5 separate regions of the Homo sapiens genome follow, and all the other regions are linked to region 5. Evidence: promoter capture Hi-C in 16 types of primary human blood cells and fetal thymus (Javierre and others, 2016). All regions are on one chromosome and are shown on one strand. The core of a region is centred on a gene start or on the middle of the fragment in contact, and the rest is flanking DNA. Distances in the headings are between cores, read along the strand shown. Region 1 overlaps BCAS3 (BCAS3 microtubule associated cell migration factor). Region 2 overlaps BCAS3 (BCAS3 microtubule associated cell migration factor). Region 3 overlaps BRIP1 (BRCA1 interacting DNA helicase 1). Region 4 overlaps BCAS3 (BCAS3 microtubule associated cell migration factor). Region 5 holds the start of TBX4 (T-box transcription factor 4).

The links. The method cuts DNA at HindIII sites, captures the fragments that hold promoters and counts their contacts. A CHiCAGO score of 5 or more calls a contact.
Region 1: a fragment that was not itself captured here is called in contact with the fragment with the promoter of TBX4 in region 5 in 4 of 17 cell types (naive B cells, total B cells, naive CD4 T cells and 1 more); the score reaches 8.5 in naive B cells.
Region 2: a fragment that was not itself captured here is called in contact with the fragment with the promoter of TBX4 in region 5 in 4 of 17 cell types (naive CD8 T cells, total CD4 T cells, naive CD4 T cells and 1 more); the score reaches 6.0 in naive CD8 T cells.
Region 3: a contact is called between a fragment that was not itself captured here and the fragment with the promoter of TBX4 in region 5, in 3 of 17 cell types (naive B cells, monocytes and M0 macrophages). The highest score is 6.2, in naive B cells.
Region 4: a fragment that was not itself captured here is called in contact with the fragment with the promoter of TBX4 in region 5 in 2 of 17 cell types (total B cells and naive CD4 T cells); the score reaches 6.0 in total B cells.

What each region holds. Positions count from the first base shown.
Region 1 is chr17:61,007,670-61,010,369 of GRCh38, forward strand. All of the region lies in intron 15 of BCAS3 (BCAS3 microtubule associated cell migration factor), which reads left to right. Among named protein-coding and RNA genes, the nearest start is that of BCAS3-AS1, 130 kb to the right of the region's middle. The HindIII fragment of the contact is 591 bases long and covers 986-1,576 here.
Region 2 is chr17:60,967,949-60,970,648 of GRCh38, forward strand. The region is part of intron 14 of BCAS3 (BCAS3 microtubule associated cell migration factor); the gene reads left to right. Among named protein-coding and RNA genes, the nearest start is that of BCAS3-AS1, 170 kb to the right of the region's middle. The HindIII fragment of the contact is 4,247 bases long and covers 1-2,700 here.
Region 3 is chr17:61,842,991-61,845,704 of GRCh38, forward strand. All of the region lies in intron 6 of BRIP1 (BRCA1 interacting DNA helicase 1), which reads right to left. Among named protein-coding and RNA genes, the nearest start is that of BRIP1, 19 kb to the right of the region's middle. The HindIII fragment of the contact is 1,501 bases long and covers 697-2,197 here.
Region 4 is chr17:61,026,153-61,028,852 of GRCh38, forward strand. The region is part of intron 16 of BCAS3 (BCAS3 microtubule associated cell migration factor); the gene reads left to right. Among named protein-coding and RNA genes, the nearest start is that of BCAS3-AS1, 110 kb to the right of the region's middle. The HindIII fragment of the contact is 699 bases long and covers 1,066-1,764 here.
Region 5 is chr17:61,451,148-61,453,862 of GRCh38, forward strand. TBX4 (T-box transcription factor 4) reads left to right here and starts at 1,275. Exons shown (of 9, transcript NM_001321120.2): 1 at 1,275-1,430. It overlaps LOC124904042 (a long non-coding RNA gene), which reads right to left. Exons shown (of 2, transcript XR_007065872.1): 2 at 2,095-2,715. RefSeq lists an enhancer at 1,245-2,086. The HindIII fragment of the contact is 10,401 bases long and covers 1-2,715 here.

The sequences.
Region 1 (2,700 bases), core at 31-2,530, 440 kb before region 5:
ATGACACTATCATTAATAATCTCAATCCCCATCCTGTTTAAAAAAAAAAAAGAAAGATTGGATTCTTGTTTTCAAGTCCATTTTGTGGGAGATTTCTCTAATCTTCCTACCTTCTCACCCTTTCTCAAAGTACCTACAGTAATGTCTATGGTGACGTGAACTTTTTACTCAAAGAAAGCAACAAGTGTTTTTGCTTGAAATGCATCAAAAATTGCAGTGTTTTTACTTCACCATCGATTGCCTCCAAAAAAAAGTTATAGGCAAAATGAATCAGTGCCCACACAGGATTGTCCTTCAGTATTTTCTGTCTTTATTTGTCACCCAAACTGTTTGTTGTGTTTATAGTCTTTAAAAATGTGTGTCTGTGTGTCGACACACACACACACACACACACATAAAATTCATTTTCTTTTAGTGTGTGTTCTACTCTCCTTGGCTCCTGTGAACAAGCATTGCTTCCGCCCAGTTTGGTATGTGGGTCAGAAGGCACTGTTTCTCACCAGGGTGCTGCTGTTTCCTTTTCCGACTTGAGTAGATTGCAGATTATACTGGAACATGCCTGAGAAAAGGTCATAAAGGAGGGTGAAAGTCCTGGAACTGCAGCTGGGAAGCTTGACATTCTCATCTAGGAAAGGGGAGAAGAGAGAGATGGAGAGAGAGACACACACTCCCATCCCAACCAAAAATAACCCACCTGCAGGAAATTCCCTTCTACACAGGGTATTTTTTGTTAAATAACTATTGAGAGTTTGGTTGAAAAAACTTTAATGTTAAATTGGATGGCAAGCAAGAACTAAGCAGTGTTTTTAACTTTTCAGAGCCCACATTTCCAGTGACTATTTCAAAACAAGCTACCATTGTATTCTTTGACAGAGTCAAGAAGTCAGAGCTTTTCAACTACAGAATTAACTTAGTTAAACTCCTTGGTATATTTTAGATTTTTATCCCTGTCAATTCCACAGCAAGATATTAAAAACAGTCCAAAAGCTTTGCTCTTCTGTAGAAGACAAAAGTTTACCAAAAAATAAAAAATAAAAAAATAAAAAAAAAGGCCCCGTAGAACTCATCATCTAGTTTTTATTTTTGAAAGATATGATATAGGGAATAGAACATCTACATGATGTCTTAGAATAGGTAAAGTGTTGCAAAGAGGGCAAAAATAAAGGAGATATTTGGGACTGGGGCTGTTTCCGTAGAATTGTCTTCTGAGGAGTGCCAGAGAGTCACATTGACCTCGGGCTTCAGTGTGGCTCAGTAATCCGATTTCAAAATGCAAGAGTTCCAAATAGGAGACCAAAGACACTAGGTGAGGAGCTTATATCCTAGAACAATAGTGGGTGTTGTAGATAAGTGTATGGAGAGGTGATGAGAACAGAATTTAATACAGTCGTAGGAGTCTAGAGTACTGAGTTATAGGAAGGTGTCTATTGTAAACCTTCAGAAAAGTGGAGTGCCTAAAGTGGATAAGGTCTGTGTCTGTGGTAAGAATAAGTGGGATGATATGTGGACCTCCTAATAACACTGCTCTTTCACAGGGCACCATTGCTTAGTGTCCTTTAGCTCTTTTTGCAAATGAAGCTTTGCCGTTTCTATACTTATCTCTAATACTCTAATACTATACTTACCTCATATGTCTAATGACAACAGAAGGACAGTGCTCTTTTTATCCTCCAAATGTTTCACTTGACCCACTTTATTCCATTGTAGGTCTTAGTTTCTCATACCTTCTGTTCCTAAAGAATCTTTCTTTGTCCTCCATTAACAATAACTTTTAGAAACCTGTAACAAAAATTTCTCTCTCTCTCTGGTATGACACTCCTTTAAGGTACTTTCTGATCTACAACTATTGTCATTTGATTCCTTAATGTTATTTTAACTGATTTTATGTCCTTTGGTTCACAATATGGTAAGATATGGAAATTTTTTAAAGGTAGAAAGGATGCAAATACATTCATTTTTTATTTTCCCTCTTCTTGTTTGTATCTCGGAAGAAAGACAACTATACATATGTACACACAGATACACTGATAGTAACTTTAATATTTAACATAATCTGAAATGTTCAACAATTTCAGTTTTGCTAGCTTCAGAGAGTTCTTGCAGTTGGCAGTTTGCCACATTCACATGTTCTCACATCACTGCATTCAGAAGCTAAGAATACCAACCTGGCAGCTTCTGCACAGAGGGTAAAGATAAAACAGAAGGGAGTCTAACTTTGCAGCCACATTACCTGGGAGTTGCTGCTGATGTCTTTTCCACAAATGTCCAAGTTTGTCAAAGCCCAGTAAATCTTAGAAAGTTTATTTTCCTTGTAGCATCTGTGTTTTATAATGGGTCTTTTAATTTGTTTTTACTTTGTCTGCAGGGATTTCTTTTGTCCGGAGTTTTCAGACTCTGTCTTTTTTTTTTTTTTTTTTTTCCTGTGGAAGTGAGTCTGTTAATGATGACTGGTTTGGGAATATGCCTCTCTGCAAAGCTGACCTGACAAGCTATTCCTCCAGCGTGGCAACAAAGCCCATTGTTATTTTCTCTGTTCACTTTTATCCTCAACTTAATCCATTTTTCTTCTGTGTTTTTATAGTATAGAATGTCTGGGAAAACATAATTTAGGACAAAGCATAAGTAAGATGGTATTTTGAAGTTAGCAAAACTTTTAGTAAACAGATCACACCATGTCATTCTCATATATGCAGACAGTGG
Region 2 (2,700 bases), core at 81-2,580, 480 kb before region 5:
TTTGTTGTTGTTGTTGTTGTTGTTGTTGTTTTGGAGATCACTGAGTTTTCTTAAAACTGCTATTTTGAATTCTTGGTCAGAGGGCTCACAGATCACTCTTTCATTAGGGTCTGTCACTGGAGTTTTGCTTTGTCCATTGGAGAGGTCATAATTCCCTACTTGCTGTTGTTTTTTTCGTGTGTATATCTGTATCTTTGCATTGATACTTTATTTCAGTTTTATCTGTCTACCTTGTTTTGATTTTATTGGGTATATTTTGCTTAGTGCATTTTTTTTAATCCTTTTAGAGTCAGGGCTCATTTTGTTGCCCAGGCTGGAGTACAGTGGTGCAGTCATTGCTCACTGTAATCTTGAACTCTTGGGCTGGAGCAATCCTCTAACCTCAGCCTCCTGAGTAGCTAGGACTACAGGCACGTGACACCATACCTGGCTAACTTTAAAAAGAATTTTTTTTGTTGTTGTTGTTAGAGACAGACTCTCATTGTGTTGCCCTGCCTGTCACAAACTCCTGGCCTGAAGTGATCCTCTCACCTGCCTTGGCCTTTCAAGGCACTGGAATTACAAGCATGAGGCAGCGTGTCTGGCCTGTTAGTGAATCTTTACAGCTAAGTTGTTGCCTTTTTTTTTTGGATATAGGTGGTACCTAAAGCCCAGGTTCACCTTGGCTCTGCTAAATGATTGTAGTACTGCCTATCCTGATTTGGGAGCATCCCAAAGTGGTTATCCCCACAGTGTGTCAAGTCTGGCTAGGGGTTTGTGCCCAGGGACCTTTGTAATGTATTGCCTACTACATGGTGCTGCTGAACAGCCACTCTAATTTGGTGTCTCCTTTGGCCAAGTAATGGAACAAAGTTTCCAGGGCTAGGGATGGTAGTCTAGCCTCCCCACTTTGTCTTGGCCTGTCCTCAGGGTTGTTTCTCCCATCAGGCAGCCACGATACTTCCTGCCAGTTAAGGCAAGGATAGTTTTCCTGCCAGAGCACCCAAGATGGTGGGAAAGCTGGTTTACCACCTCAGTCTCACTTTTTCCAGTATAGTCACCATGAGTTGGGGGGGGAGATTTTCTGTGCTCTTGATGCCAGGCAGAATCGGGGGAGGGGCATTACAGATCTGGAAGTCTGAATCTCTTACCATTCACTCTGAGGTTTTCTTTTTCACTTCTCTGTGGCCTCAGGAATTGTCTCATCCTCATATTTGAGTTCTGAGTGTTTCTGGTTAAAATCTCGGTACTATATATTTGTTTTTGGTTTTCTGCAGGGGTAGTGAAGCCAGCTAGCTTCTATACCACCGTTTTGGAACTGGAAGTCTCCATCTTCTAGTAGAAATTATTTTAAAGCATCTATTATTACTATGCTCAGTGATATGAAGGAAAATATGCTTCTTTTAAATAAAAGGGTAGGAAATGTCAGCAGAGAAAGAGAAAATATAGGAAATTACCTAGTGAAAAGTCTACAACTTAAAAATACAATATCAAAAATAAAAATGAAATGGATGTGTTAATAGCAGAATTTGAGTGAGTAAATGAATTTGCAGATAGATCACTAGAAATTTCCAAACCAAATGAGTGAAAAAATAGAAAATAAGTAGAGCCTTAGCAACTTGTGGGACAATATCAGAGCCAACATACATGTAGTTATTGCAGAAGGTGAGGAGAGTAAGGGAGGAAAAAAAATCTAAAAGTGGGAAACTTTCCACTTTTGTTGAAAGACATACATTTACAACTTCAAAAAGATAAGCAAACAACACATAAGATTAAGTACAACAAAAACCATGTCAAAGGACATCATAGTCATTTTTCTGAAAACCAAAGTAAGGAGGAAATCTTGAAAGTAGGCAGACAAAAGTAATGCATTGCACACACAGAAAGTACATTTTAACACACTATTGACTTCTCACTGGAAACCATGGAAGTCAGAAGACAGTGGAATAACATGTCTGAAGGACTCAAAGAATAAAATATTGGCCACCTGAAGTTTTCCATCAAACAACAATATCTCTCAAGGATGAAGGAGCAGTAAAGGCGAGACATCCACACTGTAAATTATGCTAATGGCACATAATACCAGAAGCAAACTTGCAGCTTTAGGAAATAGTGAAGAATATGGTCATTTCTTGTTGAATAGAAAGGATGATTTTTCCCTTTTAAAAATTTGTGTCTAATATATGGGAATGATTGAATTATTTTGTTGGTATTGTATTATATGTACATGTAATACATATGACAACTATAGCACAAAGATGGAGGGTGCTAGGGTGGAGGCAGGTATATGGAGCTGTACTATTGCAAGGTTCAACATTGCTATACATAAAAAATCAATGCTTCAATGAAAATGGCATACTAAAAAATGTTCAGTTAATACAAAAGACAGGAAAGGAAAGGCAGAAGCACAAGAAAAAGAGGGATAAACAGAAAACAGATATTAAATGGTATATCAAAATTCAACCATATAGAAATTAAATATTAATGTACTCCAATATAAAGGAAGAAATTGCCTATAAGGTAGTGTTGAATATAGAGACATTAATATGATAGTAAATGTATATTAAAAGATACATCATCCAAATAAGAAACATAAGAATATTGGAAATTCAACTATATTAGTATCAACTAAAATAGAATTTAAGACAAAGCCTATTACCAGAGATATTTTGTACTGTTCAAAAGTCAAATTATCAGGAAAATTTAAATGTATGCACGTAG
Region 3 (2,714 bases), core at 197-2,696, 390 kb after region 5:
AAGAAAATGTGGTGTGTATGTGTATGTCAATGGAATATTAGCCCTAAAAAAGATCCTGCTATTTGTGACAACATGGATGAACCTGGAGGGAGGACATTATGCAAAGTGAAATATGTCAGATGTAGAAGGAAAAATACTACATGATCTCACTTATACGTGGAATCTAAAAAAGTCAAATACATAGAAACAGAAATCAGAACAATGGTTACTGGGGCAGGGAGGTGGGGGATTTGAGGAGATGTTGATCAAAGAGTAAAAAGTTGAATCTACATAGGATGAATCAAGTCTAGAGATCTAATGAACAGCATCATGACAACAGTTAATAATACTATATTCTAGGCTGGATATTTCGATATTGGCTTTAAAATTTTCAGGTGTTCTCAACACACACACACACACAAAAGGTAACTATGTAAGGAGATGAATATATTAATTAGCTTGTGATATGATTTGGAAGTGTGTCCCCTCCAACTCTCATGCTGAAATGTGATCCCCCAAGTTGGAGGTGGGGCCTAGTGTAAAGTGCTTGGGTCATCAATGGCTGGTGCCCTCCTCACAGTAATGAGTTGAGTTCTTGCTCTGAGGTCACACGAGATCTGGTTATTTAAAACAGTGTGGAACCTCCTCTGCTCTCTCCTCTGTCCTCTCTTTCCATGTGACAAGTTTGCTCTCTCTTTGTCTTCTGGCATGCTTGTAAGCTTCTTGAGGCCCTCACCAGAAGCAGATGCTGACACCATGCTTCCTGCACAGCCTACAGAACTGTGAGTGAAAATAAACCTCTTTTCTTTATAAATTGCCCAGCCTCTGGTATTGCTTTATAACAATTCAAACAGACTATCACAGCTTGGCTGTAGTAATAATTTCACTATGTATATATATATTAAAACATCATGTTTTACACCTAAAATATATATAATTTTTATTTTATGTATTTATTTTTTATTTTTTTTTAGAGACAGGGTCTCGCTCTGTCACCCAGACTGGAGTACAGTGGTTCAATCATAGTTCAATACAGCCTCAATCTTCTGGCTCAAGGGATCCCCCTCCCTCAGCCTCCTGAGTAGCTAGGACTACAAGTACACACCACCACACACAGCTATTTTTTTTCTTCTATTCTTTATAAAGACAGGGTCTCGTTATGTTGCCCAGGTTGGTCTTGAACTCCTGACCTCAAGCAATCCTCTCACCTTGGCCTCCCAAAGTGCTGAGATTATAGGCATGAGCCATGATGCCTGGCCCAATCTTTATTTAAAAATTAAGATCAGGCAGTATGTGTCCAAAGTCCATTCTCTTAACCAATAAAAACAAAACAAGCCAGGTGCAGTGATTCATGCCTATAATCCCAAAACTCTGGGAGGCCCAGGCAAGAGGATCACTGGAGGCCATGAGTTTGAGACCAACCTGGGCAACACAGTGAGACCTCATCTCTACAAAAAATAAAAATAAAAAATTAGCTGGGCATGGTGTTGCACAGCTGTAGTCCTTGCTATTCAGGAGGCTGGGGTTGGAGGATCACTTGAGCCTGGGATTTTGAGGTTACAGTGGGCTATGATCACACCACTGCGTTACAACATGGGCAACACATTGAGACCCTGTGTCTACAAATAAAGCAAACAAAAACAATTCCCAAGAAAAAAAAATCTTAATCACAGGTGACTCTATACTTGATTTGTTTATCTGTGAGCTTCTACATATTTCTTTCCTTATCTTGGTGTTAGAACCCTATTTAGGTGGCTCCAGGACTGCAAAGAGGCATTTTAGAGAGAATATAAAATAAAGTGATTAGGGCATTTGCCAGAACATGAGAATGCCTAGGCAGGATTTAGCTCTACTATTTACTAGCTTTGTGATCTTAGGCCAGTTTCTTCCTTCTCAGAGTTTCCTCATCTGTACGATGGGAATACCAATATACCTGCTTCATAATCATTGTAAGAACTCAGTAACATTCAACAAATAAATATTTATTAGACAACTAATATGCACCATATGCTATTCTAGGCATGAGGGACACACATGAAAAAGACTGACATTACATCGTAATAGGACAGACAAATAATAAACAAGTAATCAAGTAATTTCAGATAATAGTAAGCCCATGAAGGAAAGGAAAGAAAATGAATGAGAAAACACTGTGGCAGAGCTCAACATATAGCTTACATTATAATGATGTTGATGATTATTGCAATTTAACAGAAGAAGCTTCTACATAATTTCTCCAACTATTAATATAAAGCTTCAGTGAAGATCACCAACAAAACACAAATTAAATGTACAGTAACTGAAAACAAATCTGTGGTTGCCTGGGAATGGGGGGACAGGGCAGAAAAAAGGTCCATCAGTCTATCTTGCACTTAGGATGGACCTTTTCTAGGCATCATTTTGCAATATCATGCACTGGTCATTTAAATAATATTTAGTTCGCTGAGTTTAAGTTCATTGAGTTTTACAGATCTTACAAATGTTGACACATTTCATTATATAAATATAAAAAGTCATATTCTGTAATATCACCAATTTCATCAGAAAAGTCTGTAGTTATCACAAAGCTGCCAAGCTCAGAGTATATACAAATTTTTTAAAATTCTGATTTTCACTTGAAAGCTCAAATTTTATCTGGCTCATTTTATCATAAAGAATTACCATGGTTAGTATATCATTCACTCTTTTTCAAGCAAAAATGATGTTCCATGACAAAAAGTGGCTAGTCAGCTCAC
Region 4 (2,700 bases), core at 165-2,664, 420 kb before region 5:
GTTTCCCAGTTGTATTTAAAACAAGTGATTGTAGCTTTAGTTTGCTGCGTACTAACCTAATCTAGTGCAGACCAGGTAAAGGAAGCTAACCTCTTAGACCACTATTAAGAGATATCCTAATTTCCTGGATTATGGCCAAAAATAGAGAAAAATTATACTAGTTGTACTTAGTGTTTTTTCCTTTGACCAACAATATACAATTCAACTTACGACAAATAAGCAGCTTGAAAAATATGTGCCTCTTTCTGTGGTTCTGAGACTGGAACCAGTGAAAAGCAGACAATTCATATCAAATTTTTTATCCAGTCATCGTTAGCTAATTTTAACCATTTTGTGTCACATAGCTACACATTTGTTGCTATTGATCTCACTCTTCTCCATCTGGTTATTCCATTTAACTTATACCTTGTTTTAAAGGGCTTCAGCAGTGAATTTTATTTTATTTTAACTTAGAAATACTACAGGGGTGCTCCAGAAAAGGGGGAGAAATAGAAAATTTTGAATCTCTAACTCTGAAAATTAAGGGCCTTGTTACTACACATCATTCTGTTTATTGGTTATATCAGACAGTATGTACAGCAGAATTGTAAATGATTACTAATTTTTTAGTTATTTTTATCCATACTCTATAACAGTATGATATACTTGTATTTGCTAATGTTAAATGAGTTTTTCTCTAATTTTTTGTGCATTTTTCCCCCTTTTCCATGAAGGCCTTATCTCTTTGGAGCGGGGTGTTTTTCCATAAAAGCCCCATGGTGAGTTCCAGTTCAGTCCCGCATGCCTCATTCATTTGCTGTACTCTCAAAAAGTAATTTGTTTTGTAGTTTTGTTTCCAGTTGCATGGCCTGATCACAGATAGATGCACCAAGTTACTGAATAATTTGTAGATGGAACATGAATGTTGATATTTAAGCTTTAGAAAAGTGGTTTTCTTGGTTTCACTTCATTCTTTAAAAAGTAAAAAACAAAAAAAAAAAAACCACAGATGAATTTTTTTTAAATAGAAGAATTCTCTCATAATGCTCGTAAATATTACAAGACAAGGCTAACACCCAAGTTTAAAGCTTTGAGTATTATGGCATTAGAAGTTACCTACATATCATGCATAGCATTTGAGGACATGATTTATTTTGAAATATAAATATATTTAAGGTATACCAAAAGCACCTTATAAAGTTTTTGTTGCATTTTATTTGGTCCTAAAGAGACAAAAGTTCTGTTTTTGAATAGTTTAGGTATTTAAGGAGCTACATAATGACAAAATATATATTTTACATAAAACCTCCTAAATAATTTATTATTTTGAATTATTAGCACATACTCATCATAGCTTAATTATTTGGTAAATTCTTTCATGTCAGTGCACAGAATACAGCTTTGTCAGTCTTAGACAGGAAGGTCATAGAAAAGAATTCGAATATATTTAATACTTTCATGTAAAGATAGGAAGTAGAATGTGTTAAGAATGGTATAAAATGTTTAATGGTTAAGAGTCAGACTGCCTGGGTCTTAGATCCCAATTGACACACTTACTAGCTATATGATTTGGGGGGAGTTTTCTAAAACCTTTCTATTTCTTATTTCCTTATGTATTAAATGTACCTATGTAATGGACTCACTATGAGTATTAAATAAGCTGATACATATCTCAGTATGTGTTAGTATATAACAGTGCCTGGCACATAGTAAATGTGCAGTAAATGTTAGCTGCTACCACTGTTTCTTTTCCTGTTTCAGGGAAAAATACCGTGTTTCAAAAGAAGCTTATTTAAATTAGATTATGTTTTTCACTTTTAAGGATATGTTAACCAGTGCGAAGTTTTGAGAAATGTAAGCTATATTAATTTTATTAATTTAGTCAGAATACTGAAAAGAGTTCTGCACATATGTGTAGTTCTCATAACTGCTAAATGGGGATTGTTCATACTGTTCTATTACACTAGAAAAAAACATTCCAACGTTTTTTCCTCTTGGACAGAAAGAAGCTTAAATAGTTCTTTAAGGTTAATTATTATTTGACACAAACTTATTTCAATGTTTATATGCCATAGGAAGATCTGAAAATTTTGTTATTGCTTAATAATAGGTGACATAAAACAAATCAACATAAAATTTTCCTCCTTGAAAATTATAATTAGACACAGTTTGCAAAACTATTCTAAACAAATTCAGGATATACAAGAATATAAATCTCATGAAAGTTGATCTTTATTCATTTTGTTAACCAGATGTCTTCTAAAAACAAATAAGATACACAGATCTTACTTATGAGCCTTCCAGTGATCAGTGAATTTTAAATGCCACATTCAACATATGACAAAATTTCTTTGTAAACTTAGAATTAAATTCCATTTTAGGATAAATTCTTCTTCTAAGTACAAAGCAAAGAGTTGTAGTATGTTAATAAAGATTGAAGTTTTGCATAGAAGTAAAAGATGGAATAACAACTGTTGTATGTTAAGTAAGTAAAGTTCATTCCTTCAACAGCTTACGTGCTCCTCACATTTAAGCAAAAGCACTTGTCAACCAGAAATGATTTGAGGTTGAAACAAGATTAAAAGAGCCAGATTAAAGAAAGGGATATATTAAATATAGTAGACTTTTAAATCATTGCCTGTCTTTTAGAAGACTGCTTTGTGGTTTGTTTGATGCCATCGTTAGCTCACAAGAAACTCGTTTTTAGTCACTTATACTAGA
Region 5 (2,715 bases), core at 25-2,524:
TGCTAAGCACTAAGGGACCACTCTGGGGATCCTTATTGATGAGGATTCTGCTGTCTTTGCAGATGGGTGGGCAGGCCTATTTCTGCCCCAGGATTCTGGGCATGTGACAGGCGGGGAGGCTGGGGCACGGGCTGGGGTCCGCATGGGTCCGTCTGCTAGTGGAAAGGCAGCGTCCTGTGGGAGGTACAGACAGAGAGAAACAGAGGTAAGTGGAGACAGAGAGCTCAGAGGCTGGGCAGGGAGGTCTAGGTGCTGAGCGGGACTCCGTTTCTGAGGCGGAAAGAACCGGGTGGCTGGGAGCAGGACGCTCCCCAGTCTCCACTTCCTAGACTAGGGCAGGCATTGGGCTTCCTCTTCAGCTCTCCAGGATCTCAAGGAGCTGCCGCGGAATCCTGGCCCTGGGCCGCAGTTTCCCCAGGAGGCTCTGCCAAGCCTGGCACCTTGCAGCCCGGCCTGGGCTCTGTCAAGGCCCGAGCCGGACTCGGCTCCACTCAGAGGCCGGCCCAGCACTTCCCTGCCGCCGCCGCCCCGCACCCGGCCACCGGGCTTCCTCCCAGTCCTCACCCCTGACCTCCGCGGCCGACTTCGAGGCGCGCCAGGCCGGGTCCAGCGCCCGCGGCCCCCTGGGCCGGGACAAGGAGGGCGGGTGAGCAGAAGGGCCGTGCCCAGGGCCTGGAAGTGCAAGGCCGCGTGGTGGGCATGGTAGGGAAGCGGAGCGTGGGCCTGTGAGGCGCGTGTGCGCCTGCGACCTCGGGACCGGGGCTCCCAAATGAACAGCGCGCACAGCTGGGAGCAGGGCTTGGGGAGCGGGGCTCTGCGGCCGGGGATCCGTAGAAGCCGCTGCCTGGAAGCGGGCGCCGGCAGGGGGTGGCCAGACCCGGTCGTGGAGCGTCCTAGTCTTCGGGCACGGCGGGGCCAGGCGAGCCCTCCTGGTTGTCGAGCCTCGGCTGAGAGCCGGGCTGCTCGCCCTTGCTTCCCGCCTCTCTAATCTAAACCATGCGGGGCTCCCAGCCCCTACCCGGCTCGCGGGGCCCGAGGGCCAAGAGGAGGGCACTGGGCCGCGCGGTGGAGGAGCCGGCGGCTCGCGTGGGGCTCGGGATCTTGGGGACCGCGACGCCGGGGAACCCTGGAGCCCCCCTCCCCGGGGGACAGCGGGCGCAGACTGATTGACAGCGGCGACGTCAGCGCGGAGGGGGGGCGGCCCCAGAGGGAGGGAGGGAGGAGGAGGGAATTGAGGCCCCAAAGTGCAGCCTTGGAGATCAAGGGCCCGCTCCAGAGCCGGGATGTGTCCAGCCCCGAGGGCACGGCAGGCAGCTGGACCCTGACCCAGCGGCGCGGAGTCGGAGCCCCGGCCGTCCCGCGCTCCTCGGACCCGAACCTGCAGGGGACCTCGGGCCGCTGGCGCCTCCGCATGCGGCACCGCAATTAGGGTGAGTGTGGGTTCCAGCCGAGTGGGGACGAGCTGGGCGTGCGGGGCTGGGGCCACAGGGGCTCAGGGTTAGGCTGCGGGGACGGACAGGAGGATGAGCTGGAAAGGGGTGAGTCACGCGACCCGGGGAAGAACTTCAGGGGCGGTCAAAGTTGCAGGAAGGCGGCGCGAAGTGCCTTGGGTCGGGCCGCCGCCTCGGCCCGACACCCAGTAGTTGGGGCACGAGCCCTCCTCTCTGAGTAACGCGATGAATTGGGTCTAGAGATCCAAGAGCATAGAAATATCGACAGCGCCAGCACCCTAAGAACAAGGCCGTGACAGGCGGAGCGGTGGCCTGGAAATTGGTGTTTGCAGAATATGCAAGGCCAAGGAAGAGGGCCCCGGTACTGGAGCGAAAATCCGTGTAGATATGTGAGTGATCAGAACACTAGACTCAGAGCCTTTGATGCAATAGACTAGTCAAAATTAAAGCAAGGAACATTATATATAAATAATGATCGATGATTAAAGATTATTGGAATGTGAACAATTACCAAAGAAAGGGCTAATCGGCATAACTGATATAACACGTGAACTTCCAAATAATACAATCATAGTCACTTTCAGAATCAAGTGAAAATAGTAATCACAATTTTTAAAAGGATTAAAGACAAAGTAATTCTAAATAGAGGAACAATGTAAGGACTGTTTATTAAAACCAATTGCACTAATATAACATATAGTAATAGTGTAACAAATTACCAAACTGTAGGAAACTAGCAAACGAACTGTAGGAGAAAGATGAACAATGAAAATACTATTAAGGGAAATACTATTAGTGGTAGTGATATAATAATATAATGTATTATTGATACTACAGTGAACTATTAAAAGAAATATTAACTAAAATCTTAGGAGCAATAGTAATATAAATAAAGACATATTAACAAGAATTGCTGGAGTAATATGACAATTTATGACCAATGTATTAATAGTCACAAGAACATTATAAATAATGGTTGAGTAATAAGAAGTATTGTACCAATGTGATGAAAAATAATCAGAGTATTAAGAGCTACAACAATATTACAAAGTATGACAAAATAACAAGAAGTAATGATGTGATGAGTAACTAGCGAGTTCAGATCTGTAACATTACAAATAATGACAAAGTAACAAGATACTGTCGGGGTGTGTTGAAGAATAATACCTGGAGTGTTATGAGCAAGCCTAACAAAACAAATTGTGGTTAGATAACAAGAAGTATTATAAGGATGTGAGGGAAATTAACATGAATTTTGAGAACA